4 separate regions of the Homo sapiens genome follow, and regions 1, 3 and 4 are each linked to region 2. The links are contacts of gene promoters, found by promoter capture Hi-C in human tissues and cell types (Jung and others, 2019). All regions are on one chromosome and are shown on one strand. The core of a region is centred on a gene start or on the middle of the fragment in contact, and the rest is flanking DNA. Distances in the headings are between cores, read along the strand shown.

Region 1 (6,133 bases), core at 3,309-5,808, 540 kb after region 2:
CCTCGCTCCCCAGCTGACGGGGACAGATGAGCCCTCCTGTGACGTGGGAACGATGCCGGCGCAGTGCCCTCCTCCTCCATCAGTGGGGTGTAGGGACCGTTCAGAGAGCGTTTGACAGTGTCTGTTTCAACATTTCAAATGCACACAGCCTTTGACCCGAGGACCCAGGTGTGGGATCCCCTACACAAAGCCACAGGGCGCCTGCGCAGGCCACCCACGGCGGCGGCGTCCACGGTCGCAGAGAACTGGGAACAGTGCTGCCTGCCTGGGGCCCCCACAGAAGGAGCCCAGTGTTCAAGTGTGCCGGGGAGATCTGCAGATAAGGACTGGTGGGGAATGCCGCGAAATGGATCGTTAAGGGGGAAAAGTCAAGTTGCGGAACAGCACAATCCCGTGTAGGTGGACCAAAAAGATACACAGACAGACACACAGATCTCCACTAAAGTTCCAGAGAAAACCCAAGAGAACGTTGATTGTGGCTGCCTTTGCGGAGGGGGCCGGAGGCGTGGCCTGAGGCTTAAACGTTGCACCCTCCATGGCGTTTATAAGTTTACCATGAGCACGTGTTGTTGAATCCGTAAGAAAAGCAGGTTTTTACTCATCCTGTTTTGAACACAGATGCTAATGAAGTCTTGGCAACATGCAGACATTGCTGGTGGTGGTTCCTTTGTTTATAAACTTCTCCTTTTTTGCAGAAGCTCAGTGCTGGTCTTCCCAACCCCAGTTCTGCTGAGGGCTGGTCCTGAATGCAGCGTCCCACAGCCCCAGGTACATTCCCAAGCACATGCTGAGGCCCAGAGCATTAAGGGTGCACCACACGCTGCCACTCAAGTGGCAGAGTTTAGAGGGTGGTCTTGTCCAGGCCCCTCCCCGCTGCCAGCCCGGGCCACACTGAGCCTGCCCCACACCCTGTGGCGGGGGCTCCAAGGCCCTCTGTGGAAGGCCTGCTGGCCTCAGGTTGAGGCTCCTCCCAAGACCCGTGTCCAGCAAGACCTGGGTTTGCCAAGATGACCCAAGGGCAGGGGCAGCAGCCGTGGTCATGGAGACCCCGCCCGGACTCAGCCCCTGACAAGGGTCCCTCTGGGGACTGCACAGCCTGGGCAAGGGTTGAGGGTCTGCCCCTCTCCTGCCAGGGGAGGCACCAGCACTCTGTCCAGCCCTGAGGTCCGGCCCAGGGTGATTCCTTCTTGAGGAGGAGGACAGCAACGCAGCCCGGGGCACGCAGCCTGCGGCGGTCCACACACGCCAAACAGATTAAGGGCCCTTTTGCAGCCACAGTGCCCGGGCCTCACAAGTGCTGTGAACGGGACCCTGCACGTGGCCCAGCACCGTAAGCGCAGGTCTGCCCAGCAAACGCCCTGTGGTGAGCGTGGGGCTCAGTGGCCGCTGATGGAGACGCAGAACCTGGGGCCTCGCACAGCATGGCCCCCAGGCGCCAGGTTCCCCAGCCACACTGTCCCCGCACATCCTGGCGAGGTGCTCTCCTCCCAGCTCCCTGCGAGGAGCCCCTGCCTGTCACCAGAGACCAAAGGTGTGGGGACGATGCCATGGATTCCCCTCTTTGCTTCCAGACACGCTCGCTCTCAGGCTTGTCCATGGAGCTCCGAGCAGGGCCTGGGGCCTGGCTGCGGAGAGTGCCTCCTGCACACTGCGCCTGCTCAGAGTGCACATCTGAGGGTGGTGGCCAGCGTTTGAGAAGGACTCAGGAAGCAACCTCCCCCACCCCCAGCACAGGTGCTGGAGCGGCCCCTTGGTGAGTGGCAGAGCTGGCCTCCCGGGCATGGCTCGTGCTCGCAGACAGCAGTGTTCACGGGCACTGGCGAGGCTGCCTGCTCCATCGTCCAGGACCAGGCAGGCTGACCACGTCCTTTCCGGGCCCGGCCCGGTGGGAAGCTGAGGTTGGCCGTGGGAATCCCAGGCAGTGCTGGGTCAGGGACTCTGTCCTCTGCCCACCATCCCAACAAAAAGTCAAGGGTACATCTGTCAGCCCCACCCCAAATCACATGCAGGAACGGGTAATGTTTTTCCCAAACCTTTTAGAATAAAGCCTACTACTTTGCAGAAAGTGACCAAACCCTATATATATACTTTTTTCAGTAAAAAGCCACAGAAGGTCGGAGTCAATGCTATGTGGTGAGTGGATCATGGCTCCACACTCCCAGCCCCGCAGGGACAGGCGCCCACTTGTCCCTACCTGCTCCCCTGGCCGGTGGCTCTGAGGCCTCCCCAGGGTGGGACCTTCCCACCATGGGGCTGGCCTGGCTCTGGCCGGGGACATGAGTGGATGGGACACAGCACTCATGGGACTCGTGTGGCTGGTCTGACACCCCCCTCGCCCCTGACCCAGGAGAAGAGACACATGCAGCAGAGCAAACTGCCAGCCAGGACCAGCCTGGAAGAGCTGCCTGGGGCCCTGGAGGCCCACAAGCCTGCGCGCCACCTGCTCTACCCCTATGGGGACACTTCCATGACTGCAGCTGACCAGTCCACCTGCCAGCGGTTGACCACTCCCACTTCGCCAGCGACCGAAGGGGAGGGGAGGGGCCTCACCTGAGGGCAACAGCAGAACCCACCACCTGGTCTTGCTTTACTCAGACCTGAGGGTGTGAAAGGTGCCCGTGACCTCCCGCATCAGGGAGCTGGCCGCCACCCTCGACTCCCGGGGAGCAGGCGTCCCGCGACCCCCTCATCTACCAGGCCATCTGAGCTGGGCGGCGCCTCACCTCCGCTCCCGGGGGAGCCGGCCTCAGGGTAGGCATGCGCCCTGGGTGGGAGCAGGTCGTGGCCGCCGCCCTCCTGGCAGCTCTGGCTGAGCAGCCGCCGCAGCATCTGATTCTCCTTCAGGAGGCGCACCTGCTTCTTCAGGTCCGCGTTCTCGCTCAGGAGCCGGCTCATCAGCTCGCCGCCTTCAGCCATGGCGGGTGCGTCCCTCCTTGTCCCTCACGGCTCCTGCAGCCCCATGGAGGTGGGAGCCCAGAGCCCGCAGGCACCACAGAAACAGCCCAGGCACGGAGTTCCGTAGCCACCACCGCCTTCCACGCCTTGTGATGTCACTGCCCTAGTGATGAGGTGCCCAGCACCCTGCCTGCCCCCGCGATGGCTCATGGCCCCGTTGAGGCAGTGAAGCTGGAGGCCCGTGGCGTGCACAGGCAGCCACTCCCACATTATGACCAGGGCCCGAGAATGCCAAGGACATTAGGCAGCTACGGGATGTAGCGACTGTACTCCAAGAGGGGCGTCCAAGCCACTCCCCATTGAGCGGCCCAGCCAGGGTCGGGTGTCCACCCTGTGTGGTGTCCTCAAGCTGGGTGGGGACGCTGCCTTCACCCGAGTAACATGTGGGCTGCACTTCCCATAGGACCTGCCCAGGACACAGGGTTCCCAGTGCAGCTTCCTGTGGACCCTGGCACCCAGGGCAGCAACTGATGTGCAGGTGTTCATCAGGGTCCGTCCTTGGCACCCACACTTGAGGAGGGAGGGACTGGCAAGGGCAGTGGGAGGAGACCAGCATGTGGGGGAGACCAGCCTGGTGGGGAGACCAGCTTGTGGGGGAGACCAGTCTGCGGGGGAGACCAGCCTGGGGAGGAGACCAGCCTGCAGGGGAGACCAGCTTGCGGGGGAGACCAGCCTGCGGGGGAGACCAGCCTGGGCGGGGAGATCAGCCTGGGGGAGGAGACCAGCCTGGTGAGGAGACCAGCCTGGGGGAGGAGACCAGCCTTGTGGGGGAGACCAGCCTGCGGGGGAGACCAGCCTGGGCGGGGAGATCAGCCTGGGGGAGGAGACCAGCCTGGTGAGGAGACCAGCCTGGGGGAGGAGACCAGCTTGCGGGGGAGACCAGCCTGCGGGGGAGACCAGCCTGGGCGGGGAGATCAGCCTGGGGGAGGAGACCAGCCTGGTGAGGAGACCAGCCTGGGGGAGGAGACCAGCTTGCGGGGGAGACCAGCCTGCGGGGGAGACCAGCCTGGGCGGGGAGATCAGCCTGGGGGAGGAGACCAGCCTGGTGAGGAGACCAGCCTGGGGGAGGAGACCAGCCTTGTGGGGGAGACCAGCCTGGGGGAGGAGACCAGTCTTGCGGGGGAGACCAGCCTAGGGTGGGGAGACCAGCCTGAGGCAGCCCCACGATGGCCCCCACATGCTTTGGAGCACTGGGTGGCCCTGAGGGCTGGGCTGGAGGCCACCTACTGACCTCACTCCCTGATGAGAAGGGTCCAGCAGTGCATGTCCACCCCTCAGACCACGAGCGCCCGTGTCTAAGACACCAATTGTTCCTGACTGCACTGCTCCTGCCTGCACGTAACTGAGGACGCCCCCAACCCATGGCCACGGCCCCTCGGGCCGTCACACAGGGCTGCGGCTCATGGGGCCCTGCTAGAGCAGGCGTCTGTCCTCAGTCAGTGCGACCGACTTGAAACCCACCCTGACTCCCTGCTTCAATTACTTGGGAAAGTAAATCACCTCAGTGTTGTTTCTTGGCTCCGAGGGTCTTGTTTTATCAGCAGCCGGGATGCAACAGATGGGTCATCTCATCCTCATGGGAAGGGACGTACGGCAGAAAGCACAACCCAGTGGGCCGGCCACACCTCCAGCCCTGTGACGGGCACCCACCACCACCAACCCAGTGGGCCGGCCACACCTCCAGCCCTGTGACGGGCACCCACCACCACCAACCCAGTGGGCCGGCCACACCTCCAGCCCTGTGACGGGCACCCACCACCACCAACCCAGTGGGCCGGCCACACCTCCAGCCCTGTGACGGGCACCCACCACCACCAACCCAGTGGGCCGGCCACACCTCCAGCCCTGTGATGGGCACCCACCACCACCACCATCCCAGTGGGCCGGCCACACCTCCAGCCCTGTGACGGGCACTCAGGACCACCAAGGGCACTCAGGTGCAGATGCCCCTGGGAGAACACCACCTTCATTCAGCCCGGGCGGCCAGATTAGGGGAAGGTTGCTTCTAGGAGAGAAAGTCTTGAGTCAGGCTTTGTGGAGAAAGGAGGTTTCTACACCCCAAGCGTTCCTGACACAACCCAACCAGCCTGGTGTTGCACCACAGGGCTCACACCTCAGATCAAGACAACGGGGGCCCAGCCACAGCCCACTGACGAGGGCATGCAGGGCGTCCAGGATGCAGGGCAGAGAGAGAAGCGAGGGATGAGTCACGGATGCGCCCCCCGCTCTGAGCCCGACGGGGCCCTGAATGGCTTTTCCTGCCCTGGCTCCTCCCATCATATTTTAAATGCCGTCTTCCTCCCGCTCCAAGGAAACCTTCTCTTGACGTCAGGTACTCTCCAGCCACGGACCTATCAACATTCTGACAGTTTTCTGGTCTTGACACATTATCCTTTTAATATAGCGCTGGATTCAATTTATTAATATTTTAAGTATTTTTATGCTCACAGGGGAAGTCGATCTGAATCTCCTTTTCTTGTGATGTCTCGGTCTGGCTTTGGAACACTGGCCTTTTAAAATGAGCCGCAGAGATTCTGCGCCATTTTCTGGGTGTTCCTTCTTAAACGTCGGATAGAATTCATCTGTGAAGCTATCTAGAACTAGATTTCTTCTGGAAAAGTTTTAAATTTCTAAATCAATTTCTTAAATAGATACAACGCTACTTATATTTTATATTTTTCCCTCATGTGCGTTTTGCTGACAATTGTGGCTGTCAGGTAGTTTGTTGATAATAGGGGAGGCTGTGCATTTGTTGGGGCAGCGAGTGGGGAAATCTCTCTATCTTCCTCTCAATTTTGCTAAGAACCTAAAACTCCTCTTAAAAAAGTCTTGAAAAAGACAAAAGCACGAAGGAAACCAGAGAATATTTCAAGTTGAATGAGAATAAAAACATGACATTAGAATTTGTGGGGTGTAGTTAAAGCTTGATGCCCGTGCTCCACAACCACAGGAAATGGACAAACCCTACCAAAGTTATCAAAAGAGAAGGACACCCCATCTGTAGAAAACAGTCAGAAGATTAGGCAGATGTGGTGGTGCGTGTCTGTTGTCCCAGCTACTCGGAACACTGAGGTGGGAGGATTGCTTGAGCCTGGGAGGTCGAGGCTACAGTGAACTGTGGTTGCGCGGCTGTGCTCTAACTTGCGTGACAAAGTGAGACCCTGTCTCAATAAAATAC
Region 2 (6,699 bases), core at 3,422-5,921:
TGAGCTGAAAGTCTTCCCAAAATAAAAGGAAGGTCTGGATGACCCGTGACGTTTCTGGTGCATGTGTGAGGTGTGTGCATTTCTTCTTTATGCAAAATATAAGAAAACTTACATATAAAAAAGACAAGGGGGGAGTGCTCTGTGTGCAGTGGGGGAGGGGCCCAGAGCAGAGGAGGACTGCTCCCCAGGGCTGAGAGGCACCTGAGGGCGCCAGGGTGGCAGCAGGAGCTCTTTCCTCCCTCTCTGTCTCTGTCTCTCTCTTTCTCTCTCTCTCTGTCAGCAGTGACTCATGGACCCCAGGGCCTGAGATGTCTATCCCAGTTGTGGAGATGCCAGTCTGAGGGGCAGGCCAAGGATTCATTTGCTTCTTAGCGTGAAGAGCTGAGAGGACACAGGACCCATCCCTCGTCCATTAGGGATCATGAGGGCAACTGGGGGAGTTCTGGGTGCTTCTCCACAGCCAGATATTAGAGACCCTGTGATTATTTTCTGCTAAAACCAGGGCACACTGCCAGAGAAGCCGATGGGCTGCTCTATGTGAGACTCCATCCAATTCACTTCCAGGATGTTTTACCCTTTGGGGCAGAGCCATCTGCTTCCGTGCATGGCTTGAATCCAGCTTACCAACATTGATAACTTTTTGTGCCTATGACAGGGACAGATGTCACTGCCAGCCCCTCATGTCGGCAGAGCAGGCACTCCCCATCCTCTCTGTGTTCATTCTATGCTGGGGAAGGGGGCTGGACACTGAAGGAGTGGCCGGGATGCAGAAGCAGTGCAGAGTGTGCTTCTGGGAGACACCCGGAAATCAGGGCAGCTGTGGGGCACAGGGCAAGGGTTACCTTGCCAGCCCCGAAGAGGAGAGGTGGCTGCAGCCCCACCTACACCAGATGCCTCTCTCCGTCCGTCCTGGGTGTCTCTTTCCATGCTCCACTCATGCCCACTGCCCTTCCAGATCACATTTCCAGGAAGTGCCCTGTTCTGGGTGTCACCATCACCCAAGCTGGGGGCACCTTGCAAGCCTTCTGGCCATGGCTTGCTGTCTCTCTGCAGGGTCCCAGGCCCAGGCCAGGGGCCAGTCAGGCAGTGCCGCATGTGGGAGCTGCCTCTTCAGCAGGGGGACAGGGGAGAGGGCATGAGGGGACCCCTGAGCTGCTTCACCTAATCCAAGTACAAACACCACAGCACCAGGTAAGTTAGGTCAGGTGCACTTATGATGAGGCTGATATAAAAAGGAGGAAGCGGAAGTGGGAACTATTTTTAGTTTCTGTATTTCCCTAACCAGGGCAGCTGGCACAGGGATTGGCTTCTTGGTCTCTGATTTCCACTCCAGCACTTTGGCCATCAGAGGATCCTGTGTGAGCTCAGCTGAGCCAGCCCCAACACCCCCCAGCAGCTTTTGGTGGGCAGTGGCAGCGGTCCCTGTGCAGGGCAGGAGCCTGGGGAAGCAGGGGCTGGGTGCTGCTGGTCCCTGGAAGAAGGACTTCTACCCCAGTGCTTTGTGAAGAGGACATGAGGGCAAAGTACTAATTTGCCCCTAGGTAACATGTGTGCTGGGGTTGTAGGCTGAGGTAAGGGTATGAATTCTGCCTGAGGAAAGGCTCAGCCTGGAGTGTAGTCCTGCTGAAGGCCAGAGACCACACACTCCACCCAGACTCCGGATCTCCCTCCCCAGCAGGGGGATGGAGGCCCTGCCGCTGGGAGTGCTGGTGTTATGTGGAAGGGCTGGGCTTCTCCAGGGCTCCTGGGAGGCCTAAACATCTTGCAAGGTTTTGACGTTAATTACTATTATGATTGCTTTCTGTGTGTTACTGTTTTCCCCACACTTTAGCCAGCTAATGTGGAGCTACAGAAGGCCCTCGCCCCTACCCCTCCAGATGTCCCAGCCCATGACAAGCAGGAAGGCCGGGTGCTGGGAGACTTCCTGGGGCTGGATCTGACATCATTCCAAGCAGATGATAACCTGCCTTCCCGATTTCCAAACCCACAGCAAGACACCCTGGAGTTATTTATAAATGCGAGCCCCTGGGTGCACTTCTGACGGGACCAGCACCCTGACGGCCATGAGAGGGTGGAGACAGCGCACCCCGAGCTCAGGGAGGCAGGAAACTCTGGACCTGGAGGCCGGGCACCATGAGGGACACGCTGCAGGCCCAGCTGCTGCCGCCTGGGGCGGGGCTGCCCTGCAGGCTCCGGGAAAACCCAGAACCAGGCCGGATCAGCGTGTGTCAAGAGGCGGGGCGTGAGAGATGAGCTGCTTTTTTTCTTCACAGGGTTGGCAGGAACTGCAAATAATAGAAAGTCTTTAGGGTCTAACACGCTGCCCTGAAAACACTATCATTACTTTCCTAATGACTAACTGTGTCTTTCAGCCGGCGGGGCAGGCAGCTGAGGCCGCAGGCTCCCGCAGAGGACCGGGGGAGGCTGGCAGCCTGTAATCTGGGGGCGCTGACAGTGCTCTGCCCAGACCCTCGCGCCAGCTCCAGCTCCAGCACAGCAGCCCTGGGTCCCTCTGGCCCCCTGCCCGCAGAGTCCAGGTGTGGCAGAGGCCGCCCAGTATCCCTTCTCCTCCTCCTTTTCTAAAAACAGAGTCTCACGATGTTTCCCATGCGGGTCTCCAACGCCTGGGCTCAAGCGATCCTTCTGCCTCGGCCTCCCAAAGCGTTGGGATTAAGGGGCGAGCCACCGCGCCCGGCCCACCTTCCCTTCTGGTTCATTTCCAGTAAGGTCCTGTCCACAGCGTCCTTCCCAGCATTCCCACCAGGCTGCAGGCCTTGGCCTCCCTCCCCTCCATTCTCATTCTCCCCGAAACCGCCAAGCGCGTCCAAAGCACGGGTTCGCCAAGCGCCCCCCCCGCCCCACTCCACATTCCCTTCCCCGCCGACTCAGCCTCCGTAGCTCGCGGACGGCCCCTCCTCACGCCAGCCCAGGCTTTTTTTTTTTTTTTTTCTTCTATTTTAAGGTTGTCTTTTAATGACACAAGCGACATTTGGAGACAAAAGGACACATCTCTTCCTGACCCACCTCCAACCCCAGCTGACGGCCGCCCTGAGCCTGGCGTAGACGGCCCGGAACGTTCCCTGCGTGGGTTCCGTCCATCCCGAACCCCTGTCCCCGCGCCGGCTCCGGGGGTGCTCGGGGGGCCGCGTGGGGTCTGTGACGTCGCCTCGAGGCTGCATCCCGGTGACCCGGCAGCCCCTGGCGCTCGCGGGAGGCGGGCGGGCGCGGACCCCAGGCTTTAGGGCGCGATTCCTGCAGCTGGCTGCCGGCCCGAGGTTCTGGGGTGTCTGAGGTCTCGGGCGGGGCGAGGACGTTTCTCCGGCTCAGCCCCCCCACCTCCTGCCCTGCCGCCCCCCACACCCAGCTCCCCACGGACGCCAAGAGGCGCCTCCCACCCCGGCGAGGACCCGCGGGGAAACGGGGCCCAGGCGCGGCGACTGCGGAGGACGCGCCTCGGCCCCAGCGCCCTGGTCCTCGGGGCGTCCGGCTGCCCTTGCCCGAGGCCGGGGCGGGCGCTCAGCGCCGCGGAAGAAACGCCCGGGCGGGGACGCACAGCGAGGCGGGCTCCGCGGGAAGTACCGGGAAAACGGCGCGGAGCGGAACAGCCCGGAGCCAGCCCAGAGAAAGGGCGGCCTCCCCCTGCAGCCCCCGGGGCCCAGCAACGCCCCGCCCCAGGCCACGGCACGCGAACGCCGGGCGGGCGGAGGGGACAGGGCGGCGGGACCAGCGCGGGGCGGGCAGCGTCTGGGCACAGGCTCACGAGCCGCTCGGGGCCCCTGCCCGCCGGGCGCTGCGGCCCCAGCCTCCGGGCCGGGGCCAGGCCCACAGAGAACGGGAAGCGGGCGCTGCAGGGGGACCTTCGGGGTTGCGGCACGGCTGGGAATTCAACGGCCATTCCCGTCCCGTCGGGCCCACCCGCCCGCCCGCCAAATCCCCGCCCACCGCGGATCCGCCCCGTCCACCAAGGTCTCGCTCACCAACGGCCCGCCCCGCCCACCACAGGCCTGGCCCGCCCACGAAGGCTCGCCCCGCCCATCCACGGCCCTGCCCACCACAGGCCCGCCCCAAGCCTGGGCCCCGCCCCAGCAAGGGCACTAATCCCCTAACCCCCGAGCCCCGCCCACTGCTCTTGCCCTTCTCCCGCCCGCCCCGACTTAGGCCTCTCCCCGGCCTGGCCTCCCGTACTCAGCCCCGCCCCTGCCCCGCCCCCACCCCACCCCAAATGTGACCTGCCCCTCCCACTGCCCGTCCCCTCCCCGCTTCACTTCATTAGGCCCCCGCCCCGATTCTTGCCCCGCCCGCTCAATGTCCCGCCTACGACCCCGCCCACTACTAGTGACCGGCCCGCCCGTTCGAGGCCCCGCCTCCTCCCCGCCCAATGCTCGGCCCCGCCCCGCGCGTCATTGGGCCAGGTCCCCGCCCCGCCCCCAGCCCCACCCCCGCCCCTTTGACTGGAGTTGGCTTTTTCCAGAGAACTTTCCGGGCTCGGATTGGCCGCGCCGGTTGATGTTCCGCCCTTTCATTGGCCCGCGGCGCCCGCTTTCGCGAGCCTGCCCTTGGGCGGGGGCGGGGCCGGCGGCGGCGCGCGGCGCTAGATTGGTTAGCGGCGCAGAGGGGCGGGCCCGCGCCGCGCGCAGCGCTCGGGCTGGAGCGCCTGAAGCCGCGACCGCCGCCTCAGCCGCCTCAGCCGCGGTCGCCGCCGCTTCGGCTGACTTAGGCTCCGCCGCCGCCTCCTCACCCGCCTCGCCCCGACCCCGCCCGGGCCTCCCGGCCTCTCCCCGCCGGCCCGCGGGCTCGCCGTCCGGCGCAGGGCAGGTGAGTGAGCGGTGGCGGGCGGGGTCGGGGTCGGGCGCCCTTGCGGGTTACGGGGACCCAGTCCCCGACGGAGGCCGAGTGACGGGGCGACCCCGGGCCGCGGCAAACTTCGCCCGAGCCGGGGCGGGCGGGGGTCCCGGGCTGGGTCGCGCCGTCCCCGACCGCCGCCGGCGCCTGCGGCGGCCCGGGGCAGCGAGGGGACTCGCGCTCCCTCAAGGTGCGGTCGCCAGGCCTGGCCCGCCCGCCTCCGCCCCCTCCCCAAATTCGGAAGTTGCGGCGGGAAGCCGAGAACGTCTCGGATGTGGGTCAGAAAACGTCTGGACTACTTGAGGCTTCAGTTTCAAAACGGCACAAATTTCATCTCTTGATTGAGAAGAGATCTGGGGAACACCCCGGAGCGGCCGCGGCGGCTGGAGGGCGGCGGGGCGGGGCGCGGGGCCTCCTCCCCCTGGACGGCCGCCGGGAGAGCGCGGCCTCACCCCTCGGTGACCCTGCGGAGAGCCGCGCGCGGGCGGTGGGGCGCGCGCAGGTCTCTCTTGTTGCTCGCTGTGTTTTATTTTAATTTTGGGGGTGGTTAGAACGTGTTTCTTATTGTCCCCACACGTGTTCTAATTGGAAGTCTTGTTTCGTGAAAGAGTTTTTTTCTTTTTTTTGCCTGGTGATGTTTTCCAATTCCCTCCGCGCCACTCTGAAGTATATTACTGGCATAAGAAATTTGAAAGTTAACCAAAAGTCGGGTCCTAAATCTCGTGGCTCGGGGTTGGTTATCTTCCACCGTCCTTCAGAGCAGCCTGGATTTGCAGGTCTTGTTAGCCCTCCATGTGAGCCAGTAGCACTCTTAGTTGTTGAGTGTTTGTAGAGTGGGATTCGCCAGAAGGAATCTTGAGCAGCAGGGCCTTGCGGAGAGGCCTTTAGAGATTAGACTGGGCAACTTATAGACTCCCCCCATTTCAAAAATATTCCTCTGGCACAGGCCCTCACATATCCCTCTGAAATTGAACTCACTTTCAGGGGCAAACTGTTGCCCTTTTTCTTTTCTTTGGACTTTCTCAGATGTGGATCCCAAAGGAGTGTGCAAGGGTGCTTCCCTATTTAAGAGAACTAACTCCCAGTCCTCCTCATATTCAAGAATAATTCATCATCTTAAAGCGTGTCAGAGATACCTATTTTGGCCCCAAAAGGAGTGTTTGTAGAACAGTGGCACTCTAAAGGGATCATTTGCAAGATCTGAAAGGACCTAATTGATCATCACACGACAGAAGCAGAAATAGTTCTGGTGTTTTCAGGCTTGGAGATCTGTCAGAAAACATGGGGCCTTAAAACTAACAAGTGCAGTGACCGACTAACTGATGTCTCACTTTCGAGCAGTATTTTTTTTTTTTGCTTGTATGTAGATGCTGTTGTTTATACAGTGCAAGTTCATTACGAATGGTTTAGAACTTACGTAGCTTCACGTATTTTCTTAGTTGATAATATTATAAGGTTTTGAAAAAGTTTTGATGATAAATGGGGTCTTTATAACTGAAAAAAATGGACTCTGTCTAGAATTCAGGGCTTTTTGGCTGGCGTTGCCCCAGGTGCTGCTGATTAGTGGTGCTTTTGGACCTCAAAACATCACTTTCCCAGATATCTTTATAATGCTCATGGTGGGGGAAAACCCACACAGCTTTGTGGTTACGTTTTTAGCTATTTATGCGAAAAAGTTCAACATATAGTTGTATTTTGCTAGCTGTTTTGAAGAAGCTATTCTTTACCCTATTGTTCTGAGGAGGCTGACAGCATGCTGCATTTATAAATTTGAAAAAGCCTCACGAGCTTCTTGAACCAATCTAGCTATTCAGATTTGGATTCTGTGTATCAGTTTTGATTATTTCAGTTCCTGTG
Region 3 (6,068 bases), core at 432-2,931, 590 kb after region 2:
CCCAGGCAGTCCAACTGCTATGCTCCTCCTACTCACCAGCCTGAACCTGAAGCTCTCCTGCAATAGCCCCGAGGAAGTTCACAGCAGATATCAGCTCCCCACCCACCACTCTGCCCACCTACAGCCCCTTGGCATAGGCTGGGCCTTCCACCTGGAATGTCCATCCCATCCTGTACTGAGACTTCAAAGCCCACCTTCCTCCTCCCTCAAGGCAACACAGAGCCCTAGAGAACCACTTGCTTCTCTTATCAGAGAGCCTGTCACCCTACACTGGCAAGGCTAGCTGATCCCCTAGACCAATAGCAGGACGACTCTGACATAGGGCAGAGTTTGCCAGCCCTTTTCTTGTGAGCCCCTGGATTTTCACCTGCTTCATCAAAACCCTAGACCAGGCTGGGCCAGGATCCCAAGGGTGATCCAGGGTGGCCATACCATCAGGCTGGGGCAGCATACTCCTACCTGGCAGGAGGAAAAGTGGGCCACCATAATCACCCGTCCAGTGCCCATCCTCAGCCTGCAGCCCCACGTAAAATGTCATCCCGTTCAGAGCCCCCTCAAAGGCGGTGTGGGCTTTGGGCAAGTCCTTAAAGTAATTCTTCTGCAAAGAGATCGAAAAAAAAAAAAAGAGATAGCTGACGGGACTGTTGCCCGGCCAGAGGAACCCTCTTCACATACAGCCCAAGTCAAAACAGTGAATGTAAATTACTTTAAAAGTTTCAGCTGTTTCCATCAAAAGTCTGAAACTCTTTGATGAGAGCATCACACCTCAGCAAAGTAAAAGAACAGCTGCACATTTTCGTTGCTTTATTTGCCAGTCATGTATTCTTCACAACTTCTCCAAGATGTCTGGAATAAACCAGGCACCCAGACTGTAGGGTGGGGCACGGGTGCCGACCTGGGCCTGGGACTCGGGCCTCTCAAAGAGGGCCCAAGGGGCGGCACAGCCTTTCCCTCGGTGGCCGGGGCTCGGCAGGAGACCCTGTTTACACTGCAGACTCTGACGACCAAAATCTCTTACAATGCACACAACTAAGACAGTGGATCCAAACACTTTTTGTGAATAAAAACAAAGTTACAACTATCTTTGCAACTCTCCTATAAGTCAAAAATTATCTCAAAATAAGGTGCTAAAAAATAAAACATTAGGAGTCTCCTATGCGTGGTTTAGAGATGAAGGGGCTGAAGCGGAGGGGCCCGCGAACGCAGTTCCCGTGGGCGCTCGCCTTGGGGATGGGCGTCGCTGGCCGGGTCCTCCCACCCGCCTTTCTGAGAGAAAACGTGCTCCTCACGGCTCACCCCTCAGGGTCCCGAGCTCGCTGACGCTCCGCGGAAGCAACTTACGGTGTCCAGCCCCAGGGCGTAGGCTTCCAGGCCGGTCTGCTCGCGGCCGGCGCGCTCGTCCTGCAGGTAGGTCCACGTCTGCCGGCCCCTCTCGCAGTTGAGTCGCCAGCGGCCGAGGTCGGTGGCGGGCTCGGTCTTGTAGGGGCCCCCTCGGCGCCGCAGACACCTGAGGACCACCGGCCATCAGCGACCCAGGCCCCGCCCCAACGCCGGCCGCCGGCCCACTGCCCCAGTCGCGCTCTCCTCAGCACCTAGGACCACCCCGCATTCGTCAGGAGCCCGGGGCGAGGGGACTCACGTGCCCTCCGTCATTGCTGCTGCAGTGCTCTACGCCGCCCACTGCCAGCTGCCAGATGTCCGCACCCGGGACCTGCCGCCCAGCCCCGCCCCTCCCGCCCCTCCCGCCCCTCCCGCCCCTCCCGCGCGCACTACGCAGGCGCAGGCCTCGGCAGGCGCTCAGGCTTAGGTGGGCCGACGCCCACGCAACCAATCAGAGCGCCGCGAGCGTGACCCCGGGGTGTGCCAGGCGACCACAGTGGTGGAGCGCTTGGTGCCCCATGCGGCGTGGGGCGGGGCCTGAGGGAGCGGGGATGGTGGGTGAAGGCGACGGGACGGGGGAGGCGGGTGGGGCCTTATTGGCGGGGCATGAGGGGCGGGGCTGGTGGGTGGGGAGGTGGGGGCGGGGCTGGTGGGTGGGGAGGTGGGGGCGGGGCCTGGTGGGTGCGGGTGGGGGCGGGGCTGGTGGGTGGGGCCGAAGGGCGGGGGCGGGGCCTCTCGCGCGCCCTCTAGAGGCTTGCGTCCCGGGAGCCCGGCCTCGTGCGCCGCGCTTTGAGGTGAGCCTCTCTGAGAAATTTGTGAGGAGGGTCCAGCCGCGGGTCGGAAGGAAGGACGTGGGGAGCGAGGCTCGAGCGAGCGACAGCGAGTGCGAAGGTCGGGTGGCAGGGAATTGCTCTCGCGCTGCAGGATTTGCCCGGACGCCGGGGCCGGGGGTGGGGGCGGGAGGCCGCCCTGAGGTGAGGTGGGCGCGGGCCGTCGGCTCCAGTGCGAGACCAGGGGGAGGGCGGGGCGGAGCGGAGGAGCCGAGGGCGCCGCCGGCGTCCCTGGGAAGCTGAGCGCCGCGTAGCTTCGCCGGGGGGAGTGGGGTAGGCGCGGTGAGGCCGTGGGCCCCCACACCTGGCGGACCACAGGGGCCAGAAGCCCTGGAGCCCCGCCAGGGAAGGGCTGCGTCGCTGGCCAGGACCGAGCGCGGTAGAGCCTCAGCTGCTCACGGGGTCGCTGGAGTTGGGGGTGGCCCCAGGAGAAATTAAAGGTGAAAAGCCTTAGCAGCAGAGGGAAGAGGAAGATGGAGGCAGAGCGAGTGACCGAACTTGGAAGGGACAGCCGGGCGCAACAGGGCAGGGGGCGTCTGACTGTTGGAAACATGGCTGACGTCTGGAGGCTGCAGCCAGTGGTCCGTAAGTCAGGTCAAGGACCCACAGAAGACCCCAGCATGTCTTCACCTGGCCCACAGAAGCCCTGACATCCAGTTACAACTGCCCCAGCCTAGTGAGCATTTCGGCACCCACTCCTCAATTCCTACCCCCAGCCTAACTTCGAAGGGGCGGTGAGCCACAGCAAGCCGGAGGAGAAAGTTGGAAGAGAGAGTGGACAAAAGAATACCCACAGGCACCTTCCCCACAGTGGAATAGCGGGGTTTTAGACAATCAAGGATAATCACCTCTTCCTATCCCAGTTCAGAAACGGATGAAAAAGACACAGCAATAAGATGGGTGGGTATCAAAATATCAGCTTTGCCACAAATTAAAAACCTAGCTTGAAGGACAAGGCTTAAATCTGCAAGCAAGAGGGCAAGCTACTAAATCACCCGTTAAGTCAGACAAACATATCCCCCAGCCTCTAGGCCATGAAACTGCCTCACCAAGCACTATGCAATTGAGTGCCCACCAGAAGACACCCCTCCAGTCAACCCACAGACCCCAGAAAGAGTACCCAGAGGAGCCTGAGCACACTCCACCCTATCTGTTCTCTGAAATTCAATCAAATGAGTCACTCTACTTCTCTGGAAGCAGAAAGAGGCTGGAAGTTTTTCTCCAGGTAAGTTCCTCCATGTAGAAACATGAAGAATAGGGATAAGGGGCTTCAGCCTGGATGGAATCTCACACTGAACCTGGCAAAGCTAGGTGAGGGAAGAGGTTTCAACTGGATAAGAGTTTGAGTTTTGATATCTTAATGGACTGGACTTTTTATGAGTAAAATAATCCGCTCTTTTTAATGTCTGAAAGAAAAGAAAAAGCTGTAAACTACGTCTGAGAATTGACACAGTTAAGCTTCTAGGGGCAGTCATGAGAAAAAACACTGTTCCTATCTGCTTACATACTACTGCATCCAGCTTATTCATTAAGCCAGATACAGAAGGCTCTGAGGATTTTGGCCTCAACAACTGGGTATATGGTGGTGGTCATTTACTAAAATAGAGGTGTCTTTTATTTATTTAGTGACAGGATCTCAGTCTGTCACCCAGGTGGGAATGCAGTGGCACAATCATTAGCTCACTGCAGCCTCAAATTCCAGGGCTAAGTGATCTTCCGGGCTCAGCCTCCTGAATAGCTGGGACTACAGGCGTGTGCCACCACACCTGGCTGATTTTTTTAAAGTTTGGTAGAGACACGGGGTCTCGCTATGTTGCCCAGGATGGTCTCAAACTCCTGGCCACAAGGAATCCTCCCACTTCAGCCTCCCAAAGTGTTGGGATTATAGGCATGAGCCACCACACCTGGCCTAAAATAGGGAAAGTTTGATTGGAAAATTCAGATTAAAGTGGGGACAAGTTATACTAGAGATGCTTATTAGACATTCAAGTGAAATATTGAGTAGGCTGGCATTCAGGAGAGAACATAATGCTAGAGATAGGAATTTGGGAGTCATTTGCTTTCAGGTAGTATTTGAAATCATGAGATTGGACAAGATGAATTAGGAAATGCACATAAAAAAGAGAAGTTCTAGAATGAGCCCTGGGGCACCGACCTTTTCCAGTATAGAGGAATGGCCAGAGAGAGGAGGAAAACCAGAGGAATATGAAGTCATAATATAAGTGAAGACATGGTGATCTTTGCTGAGGCTTTGAAGGGATTGCAAAATGAAGACAGAATTTATTATTGGATGCAACAAAACAATGTATTGGTGACTGACAAGAGCTATCTAAAGAGACATGGGGGGAAAAGCCTAATGGCAGAATTTTGAAAGAAATTTTCAGTTAAACATGGCAGACTGAGCATAAACATTAACCTCCATTTCCTGCCCAAACCCTACTCACATAAAGTAATAAAAGACCAAAAAAACCCCACAAAGAATGGGAGAGGAGACACTAGTAAGCAAGAGAAGTCAACAAAATTATAGAGACTGGGAATGGATGGAGAAGTGATAACTGAGTTAGCTAGAGAAAGTTGAGACTTACGTTTGTGGGTGAAGCCAACAAGAGACCATTCCTGCCAGCAAATACCAGGAAGGTGCAGAAATTGGAATAACTGGTGGAAAATTTTTGTGAGGAACAGTATGACCATAGATCCCCTCTCCTACTTGGGTGGAGGAAGTCTCCAGTAGTTGAATCAGAGTAGGTGTTACCTCAGGCATGAGGCATAGCTGAGGACCACTGAAAGCAGACAGATTGAGTTAAAGTCTACACATGTGGGTCCAGGCTCACTTCTCCCACTTAGCCAGATAGCATGAGATAGTGGGAGGATCCCTCTGGAGCAGCTGGCCCACAAGAGTCCTGCAAACACTGGCAACTATGACCTAGTAGAAAAACAAACCTATTAGCTGGCAGACTGTACCCATTGACAGTTTCCAACAAGCACCATCATCAGCATGAGCCAGACATTTGGGGAAAACAGTGCAACATTACCTCCAGCCATGCAAGTGATCCATCTTGGACCACTGACCCAGTCAAGCCTTCAGATGACTATAACCTCAGCCAATACCTGACTGCAGCTGCATGAGAGATCCCAACAGAAAGCTGCCCAGCTGAATCCTCCTCAAATTTAAGCTACTATATTTGGGGTAATTTGTTCAATAGCAACAAAAAAACTAGAAAAAAGGACTACAAAGTGCCCAGCACAATAAATTGGGCAGGGGTTGGGGAGGGAATGGGGAGGCAACATATGAAGTAATGTCATTGAGAAATTTGAGAACACCAGGAATAGAGATGATCTCAAAAATTTCCAGCAACAAAAAAAGCAAAAACACAAAGGAACGATTTCCAATCTAAAATTCTATTCTCATTCAAATGATGAATCAAACGTAAGGATAGATAAGTCCAAAAAACAAAAAAAAACCATTTCTTTACTCTCACAACATCCTTTTGGCACCAGATGTAGAGAATTTCTCCCCACCGACAAGCAAGCATTCAGCTGTACAGCAGACACCAGCTGGGTATCCGCTTCAATCCTGCACCGTCTACCTGGAGATAGCAGCAGATCACACAAGTTGAGGACTCTGTGCCGCAAGACTGAGCCCCATGTCCAGTGTCAATCACAAGCCCCAGGTTGTTTTACCTGTCCTTCTGGGTTCCCAAGACCCCTTCCTTGGCTTTAATTTACAAGAGCAGTTCACAGAACTCAGGGAAACACATGTTTATTACAAGGCTATTTTAAAGGCTACAAATAGCCAGATGAAAAGATACACAGGATGAAGCCTAGAAGAGTCCCAAGAGCAGGAGCTTCTGTCTGCAA
Region 4 (6,391 bases), core at 2,241-4,740, 820 kb after region 2:
ATGCACGGAGTATATAAATTTCAACATGCCCACACCCCTGAACCTTTTACTCCCTTCCACCACTGTCTGCCATAGCAATTTTGCCATTTCAATTTTGCTTACCATGGCCCATGGCTTTTTCCAAGTGTGGTGTTTTAAAAATATACTGGCAAATTTTTTGATATTCTTCCCTTTAGAAGATGAAGCCTAATTCCTCTCCTTTTGAATATGGGTAATTTAGTGACTCATTTCTTCCAAATAGGAAGTAGCCGAAGTGATGGTATGCAACTTCTGAGGCTGGTTCACAAAAAGGATACAGCTTTCTTTTGTCCTTTGTCTTTAGATTGCCCTTGGAATCCAGCCATCATATTGTGAGAAAGCCTCGGCCACAGGGACCGGCCGTGTAGGGGTGTGCTGGCTGACATCCCCAATCTGGGCTGCAGCCAATCTCCAGTATCAGCTGTCAGACATTCGAGCAGATGAACCTTCACTCATTCCAACCTCTAGCCTCTGAACTGCTCCAGCTGAGGCCTCAGACACTGTGGAAGAGAGATAACCAATCCCCACTATGTCTGACCCACAGTAACCTAGAGAGATCACCGATCCCCACTATGTCTGACCCACAGTAACCTAGAGATAAGAAATGATTCTTGTTTTAAGCCACGAAGTGTGGAGTAATTTGTTAGGCAGCAGTAGCTATACCGCCATTCTAGGAGCCATCCTTGCAGGAAGTCTGCAGCCACTCTTTGCCAAGGTGTTAAATCACGTATTTCAATAAACACATCTATGCAAGTTTACATTCCAGCTCCCTTCATCAAGCACCCTCATAATCCAGCCCCAAACTTTCCCAGCTCCTGTCAGTACATGTTGGCTGGGTGGTACAGCTTGTTATGGGCTGAAGTGTGTCCCTCTCAAAAGATGCTGAAGCCCTAACCCCTGGTCAATGTGAATGTGACATTATTTGGAAATGGGTCTTTGTAGACAAGTTAAGATGCGCTCATTAGAGTGGGCCCTAATCAGTATGACTGGTGTCCTTCTAAAAAGAGGCCCATGTCGAATGACCTTTGTCAATGATGTTACTTATGCCTTCGTCTGGAGAGACACACACAACAAGATCACCATGTGAATATAAAGGCAGGACTGGGACAATGCCTCTATAAGCCAAGGAACCAAAGACTGCCAGCAAACCACCAGAAGCTGGGAGAGAGGCATGAGACAGATTCTCCCTCCCAGCCCCAGAAGGAACCAACCCTGTGAAAACTTTGATCTCAGACTTCTAGCCTCCAGAACTGGGAGACAATAAATGTCTGCCCAGTTTGTTACTGAAGCCCCAGCAAACTAATAACGCAGTTCTTCTGAGGGGGAGGGAGCTATATTCTCTTTTCTATCTCATTGTTTCCAGCTGAATAATGCAAAAGAAACAACCATAATTATACATCTACTGAGCAGTAAGTGGAGGGAGGAGGAGTAGTGTCAGGTTAATAGGAGAGGTGAGCCACCCCGGCAGGCTTCAGGTTCAAGGCAGGCCAGGTGTGATGGCTCACTGGAGCCTAGAAGTTTGAGACAAGCCCGGGCAACATAGCAAGACCTTGCCTCTACAAGTAATAAAAAATGTATCCAGGTGTGGTGACACATACCTGTAGTCCCAGTTACTTAGGAGGCTCAGGTGGGAGGATCGTTTGAGCCCAGGAAGTTGAGGCTACAGTGGGCCATGATCCAGCAACTGCACTCCAGCCTGGGCAACAGAGTGAGACACTGTCTACGAAAAAAAGGTTTAAGGCAGTTTGGGGAGTCAAAACCTTTGAAGGCATCTACCCAGGTATCTCCAACCCATGTATGACGGGCTTTTCTTTTCTTTCTTTTTTTTTTTTAAAAGACAGAGTCTCACTCCTGTTGCCCAGGCTGGAGTGCAGTCACAGCTCACTACAGCCCTGACTTCCAGGGCTCAGGTGATCCACCCACCTTAGCCTCCCAAGCAGCTGGGACCACAGCCGTGGCCACCATGCCCGGCTAATTTTTTGTGTTTTCAGTAGAGATGGGGTTTTGTCATGTTGCCCAAGCTGGTCTTGAACTCCTGAACTCAAGCAATCTTCCCGCCTTGGCCTCCCAAAGTGCTGGGATTACAGGTGTGAGCCACTGTGCCCAGCCTCATCTTTTCTTAGCAGGGATCCAAACTTAGTGGAAGAGTATTGCCTTGTTTGGGTGTTTTGCTATTTTTGGAGTTCAGTCAAACAGGGATGTTAATTCCTGGGCCTGGTTCTTGTCTTTGACCTGCTGCAGTAAATGAAGCTTCTCTATATGTAACGGGACAGATTCACTGGCTTACAACTGTTTGTTGCTTGCCTTCAGCTGACCACTATTCTTAAGAGTCTCGGTTGGCACTAAGCAATAGCTATCCAATCCCCCTTTCCTTCCTTTTATCTACTACGTTCACCATATATGAAATGTCTGATACTTCACCCACTCGTGGATTCCATTTCACTAGTTCACCCTCCTACTTCACCACTGGTGAGTGATGCAGCCTCGAATCCCATCTTCTCACCAGCTTTAATGCTGCAGAATGGTTTCTCCAGAAGCAGACGCTGCGACTGAGTTTGGGGTACGAGGATGTTGACATGGTATCAACACCCGTGAAAGGAAGGGGAAGGAAGCAGGACTGGGCGGAGGAAGAAGGGTATGTAAGTCCCGCAAAGCTTTGGCCAACCTCGTGTGGAGCTCTGGAACGAGAACTGCTGAAGTTCGCCAGACTCGGGCACTCCTGCCTAACTCAGTAACAGGCGGGCGGCATCGGGACACGGACACGCTGCTCAGGCCCCGCCACAGCCACCCTCGCACCGTCAGACACACTCCCACACATTCGGGGAGCAGGGCCTTCAGGACGCCGGCGGCGCCCTCTCAGTCTAGCTCCGCCAGGCCCCTCGTCCGTCCTCCCGCCCTCCAAGGTCACCTCGCGGTCCGACATGGCTGCTGGGGCTCCTTCGGGGCCAACGATGTGTACTTCTAGGGCTGTTTTTTAAAGCAAAGGAGTGAACACAGGTAAAGGCACGAGAAAGGTGCCTCGACGCCACCACGGACTGCGCAGCGTTCGCGATCAGCACAGCCCGAAAGGGAAGACAGCGGTCAACGCGGACGCGCCATGGCGCGGGGACCAAGGAGGAGCCCCGAGAGGGGCGGGGCTGGCCGGAGGGCCGCGCGCGGGGCCACCAGCGGCGCCTAGGGGTCAGCGCCAACGCCCACGGGTTGGTCATCCCCACTTAGGCGCCTCGGGCCGCAACTAAGCAGCCTGCCCGCCTCAAGCCCGCCACCCTCAAGCAGGCCCAGCGCAGAGCCTGTCGGGAGCGGCGCTCTCCCGCCTCTCCCAATGGGAGCCCGGAGCGGCATCGACGCGTCTTCGGGGCCAATGGAAGCGAGGCTCTGGTGTTGCTGGGCGGGGCCGGGAGGGCTGCGCGGGCCCGAGACCCACTGCGCACGCGCGCTCGCTACCCGCCCTTCCCGCCGCGCACGCGCTCCCGTGTAGGGCCGGCCGGGCGCTCAGGAGCGCGCGGGGCAGCGGCGGCGCGGCGGAGCCATCCGCGCTCGTGCCCGCGCGGGTGCGTTGCTGTCCTGGCCGCGCCCCTGTCCCGCCGCCTCCCGCTCCTCGCCTGGCGGATGTAGGTTGTTGGCCTGAGGGGAGCTACGTAGCCGAGGTTTGCGCTGCCGCCGCCAGGCCCGGTCCGGTTCCAGCCTCTGCCCGGACGCTAGCCGGCCTGGCCATGGCTGACCGCGGGTGCCCGCTGGAGGCGGCGCCGCTGCCTGCCGAGGTGCGGGAGAGCCTGGCTGAGCTGGAGCTGGAGCTGTCGGAAGGTGAGCCGGACCCCGCCCTCAACCCCCGCGACCCGCCCTCAGCCCGGTCCCCCGCGCAGCCCCTCACTCCGGGACCCCCGCGCGGCCCCTCACTCCAGGACCCCCGCCCTTCACCCCCGGGACCCCCACGCGGCCTCGCCCCTGGGACCTCTGCCCCTCAACGGGACCCCGGTTCCTCTACCCTGGAACCCGCCCCTCGCCCCGGAGACACCGTTCCTCAACCCTAGGACCCCGCCCCTCATGTGGGACCCCAGCACGACCCCTCGCCCCGAGACCCCGGCCCCTTACCCCCGGGAACTCCCGCCCCTCACCCCCGGGACCTCCTGCCCCTCACCCCCGGAACCCCGCGCGGCCCCTCACCCCGGGGACCCCGCCCTTCACCCTGGGAGCCCCGCGCTGCCCCTCCGGACTCCCGACCCTCAGCCCCGGGACACCCGCGCGGCCCCTCAAACCAGGGACCACTGCCCCGCCTCTCATACAAGGACCCCTCCCCCATACAAGGACTCCTCCCCCCAGGCCCTTCACACCTGGGACCCTTACTCCTCACCCCGGGACGCCTGCCAAACTTCTGGAGACCTTTCCCTATCCCCAGCTGCTCCCCCAATGGGATCCGACCCCAAGGACTGGCTTTGACTAGGTCGTTTGGACAGGTGTGAGAATCTTGAGAGGAATGACCACTTTTGCCCCAAGCTGTGAGCCCCGCTTTTCTCAAGGCTGTAGGTCTGGGCTTGGTCTGGGCTTCACCAGGATGACTGCGCCCGTTGTCCGCAGGCAGCTACTTCCCTTGGAGCTGGGAGCCCTTGCCGCGCGCCTCATACTCTAGGAGCTGCACCCTGTGCCTCATTTTATTATCTATAAAGTGGGGTTATACCAGCACTTTCCATTTTGGATTGTTATGAGGCTAAAATACCTTAATATATGCAAAGCACATAACACTTAGGAGTTGTTAGCCCCCTCATGGAATTTTTTAAAGTAAAAAAAAAAAGTCGTATAAATGGTTGGTTGATAAAAATAGACTGGAGTAATCTGGCTTCAGAGGTGGTGGGTGGCATTTCCCATTTGGATGTTATCCCTTTCAAGGCCTGTGTCCTGATATTCCTTTTGGCTGTCTTTGGGAAAGAGTTAAGTTCTTCTCCAGTGTCAGAAAGGACTTGCAGTCCTTGAAGAAAAGCATGTAATTGATTCTTACTCTGTTTTTGAGATCTAAATGCATTTTCAGCTTTTAGAATCCATTTTTTAAATAATCTTATTATCCTTAATTTAAGTTTCAGATTGATAAGATTTTGCTGGGTCTGGGGTAGTTATTTCTCAAAACATCTAAATAATATGCACTAGCATACAGTAAGTCATTTAATCCTTGCCAACCTTAGGGAGGTAGATGCTGTTGTGATCTTGTTTTACATATAATACAACATGTACTTGCAACTATTTTGAATTCAGCATTCAGATTTTTAACAATGTTGTGACATGTGGCACATTTTTTTTTTTTGAGACGGAGTCTTGCTCTGTTGCCCAGGCTGGAGTGCAATGGCGTGATCTCGGCTCACTGCAACCTCTGCCTCCCAGGTAGAAATGATTCTTCTGCCTCAGCCTCCCGAGTAGCTGGGATTACAGGGGCTTGCCACCACGCCCAGCTAATTTTCGTATTTTTAGTAGAGGCAAGGTATCACCATGTTGACCAGGCTGGTCTCAAACTCCTGACCTCAGGTGGTCCGCCTGCCTCGGCCTCCCAAAGTGCTGGGATTACAGGCATGAGCCACCGTGCCTGGCTTGTGGCACATTTTTAAAAATGGAAGTACAGGCTGAGTACACAGTGGCTCATGCTTGTAATCCCAACACTTTGGGAGGCCACGTTGGCTTGGAGACGGGAGTTCAGAACAGCTTGGGTAACATAGCAAGACTCTGTCTCTACAGTATTAAAAAAAATTAGCTGGGCATGGTGGTGTGCACCTGTAGTCCCAGCTACTTGGGAGGCTGAGGCAGGAGGATCACCTGAGCACTGGAGCACTCCAGCCTGGGCAACAGAGCGAGAACCTGTCTCTTCTCACCAAAAAAAAAAAAAAAAAAAAAAGGAAAGAAATGGATGGATTTGAGAATTCTTGGTGATTAGATGCTCCTAGGCAGTCTGACAAACTTAAATTAGGAATGGGTTTGACAGGATCTACTGTACTGCATTTGTTAAGGCTCTTTAGGGAAAATCACATATACGCAGTTTAGATTCTGTGCATTTCAAACATATTTTTGCGTATTGCTCCTAATTTCTGCTCCAATGTATTCATTATTCCCTCAATTTTTTGTGTTGTAGTTGTGTTTGAGTGCTTGCTAGGCATTGACAATTGAATCCTTTCCTCAAAGAACTTTATAATTTGTGCGACAGAACACAAGTACTTAAATGAAAGAAATGTTTCCTATCTGTTGGATCCATTTATGCTATTGTCATCTTAGAGATATGTAGGGGATGTATAGGTAAGTAAAGGTATAAGATTATGTAACATGGAGAGGAACCTCGAAAAATAGCTTAAGCTGAGAAAGGGGGTAAACAAAAAAAGTATTGAGCCCAGAAATGGTG

The links. The method cuts DNA at HindIII sites, captures the fragments that hold promoters and counts their contacts. A contact is called where the count stands out against the background at its distance.
Region 1: the fragment with the promoter of SPATC1L here is called in contact with the fragment with the promoter of PCBP3 in region 2 in 1 of the 25 tissues and cell types used here (IMR-90 fibroblasts).
Region 3: the fragment with the promoter of LSS here is called in contact with the fragment with the promoter of PCBP3 in region 2 in 2 of the 25 tissues and cell types used here (hippocampus and spleen).
Region 4: the fragment with the promoter of DIP2A here is called in contact with the fragment with the promoter of PCBP3 in region 2 in 2 of the 25 tissues and cell types used here (H1 embryonic stem cells and mesenchymal stem cells).

Annotation. Positions count from the first base shown.
Region 1 is chr21:46,179,901-46,186,033 of GRCh38, forward strand. SPATC1L (spermatogenesis and centriole associated 1 like) reads right to left here and starts at 4,559. Exons shown (of 5, transcript NM_001142854.2): 1 at 4,456-4,559; 2 at 2,724-3,874. The coding sequence starts at 2,916. It overlaps LOC124905045 (a long non-coding RNA gene), which reads left to right and starts at 4,647. Exons shown (of 2, transcript XR_007067914.1): 1 at 4,647-5,287. RefSeq lists enhancers at 201-804, 2,621-3,224, 3,225-3,828. The HindIII fragment of the contact is 12,071 bases long and covers 1,031-6,133 here.
Region 2 is chr21:45,639,054-45,645,752 of GRCh38, forward strand. It overlaps PCBP3 (poly(rC) binding protein 3), which reads left to right and starts at 4,672. Exons shown (of 18, transcript NM_001384156.1): 1 at 4,672-4,815. RefSeq lists silencers at 3,877-4,866, 5,187-5,326. The HindIII fragment of the contact is 13,348 bases long and covers 1-6,699 here.
Region 3 is chr21:46,227,093-46,233,160 of GRCh38, forward strand. LSS (lanosterol synthase) reads right to left here and starts at 1,682. Exons shown (of 22, transcript NM_002340.6): 1 at 1,640-1,682; 2 at 1,342-1,507; 3 at 460-598. The coding sequence starts at 1,653. MCM3AP-AS1 (MCM3AP antisense RNA 1) reads left to right here and starts at 2,139. Exons shown (of 4, transcript NR_110565.1): 1 at 2,139-2,174; 2 at 3,235-3,435. RefSeq lists enhancers at 937-1,006, 1,723-2,017 and silencers at 1,437-1,486, 1,547-1,716, 1,727-1,986, 2,047-2,486. The HindIII fragment of the contact is 14,795 bases long and covers 1-6,068 here.
Region 4 is chr21:46,455,401-46,461,791 of GRCh38, forward strand. DIP2A (disco interacting protein 2 homolog A) reads left to right here and starts at 3,491. Exons shown (of 38, transcript NM_015151.4): 1 at 3,491-3,822. The coding sequence starts at 3,732. It overlaps LOC124905046 (a long non-coding RNA gene), which reads right to left and starts at 3,313. Exons shown (of 2, transcript XR_007067915.1): 1 at 2,927-3,313; 2 at 1-518. RefSeq lists enhancers at 2,705-2,844, 4,615-4,684 and silencers at 3,085-3,634, 3,825-3,894. The HindIII fragment of the contact is 5,308 bases long and covers 2,471-6,391 here.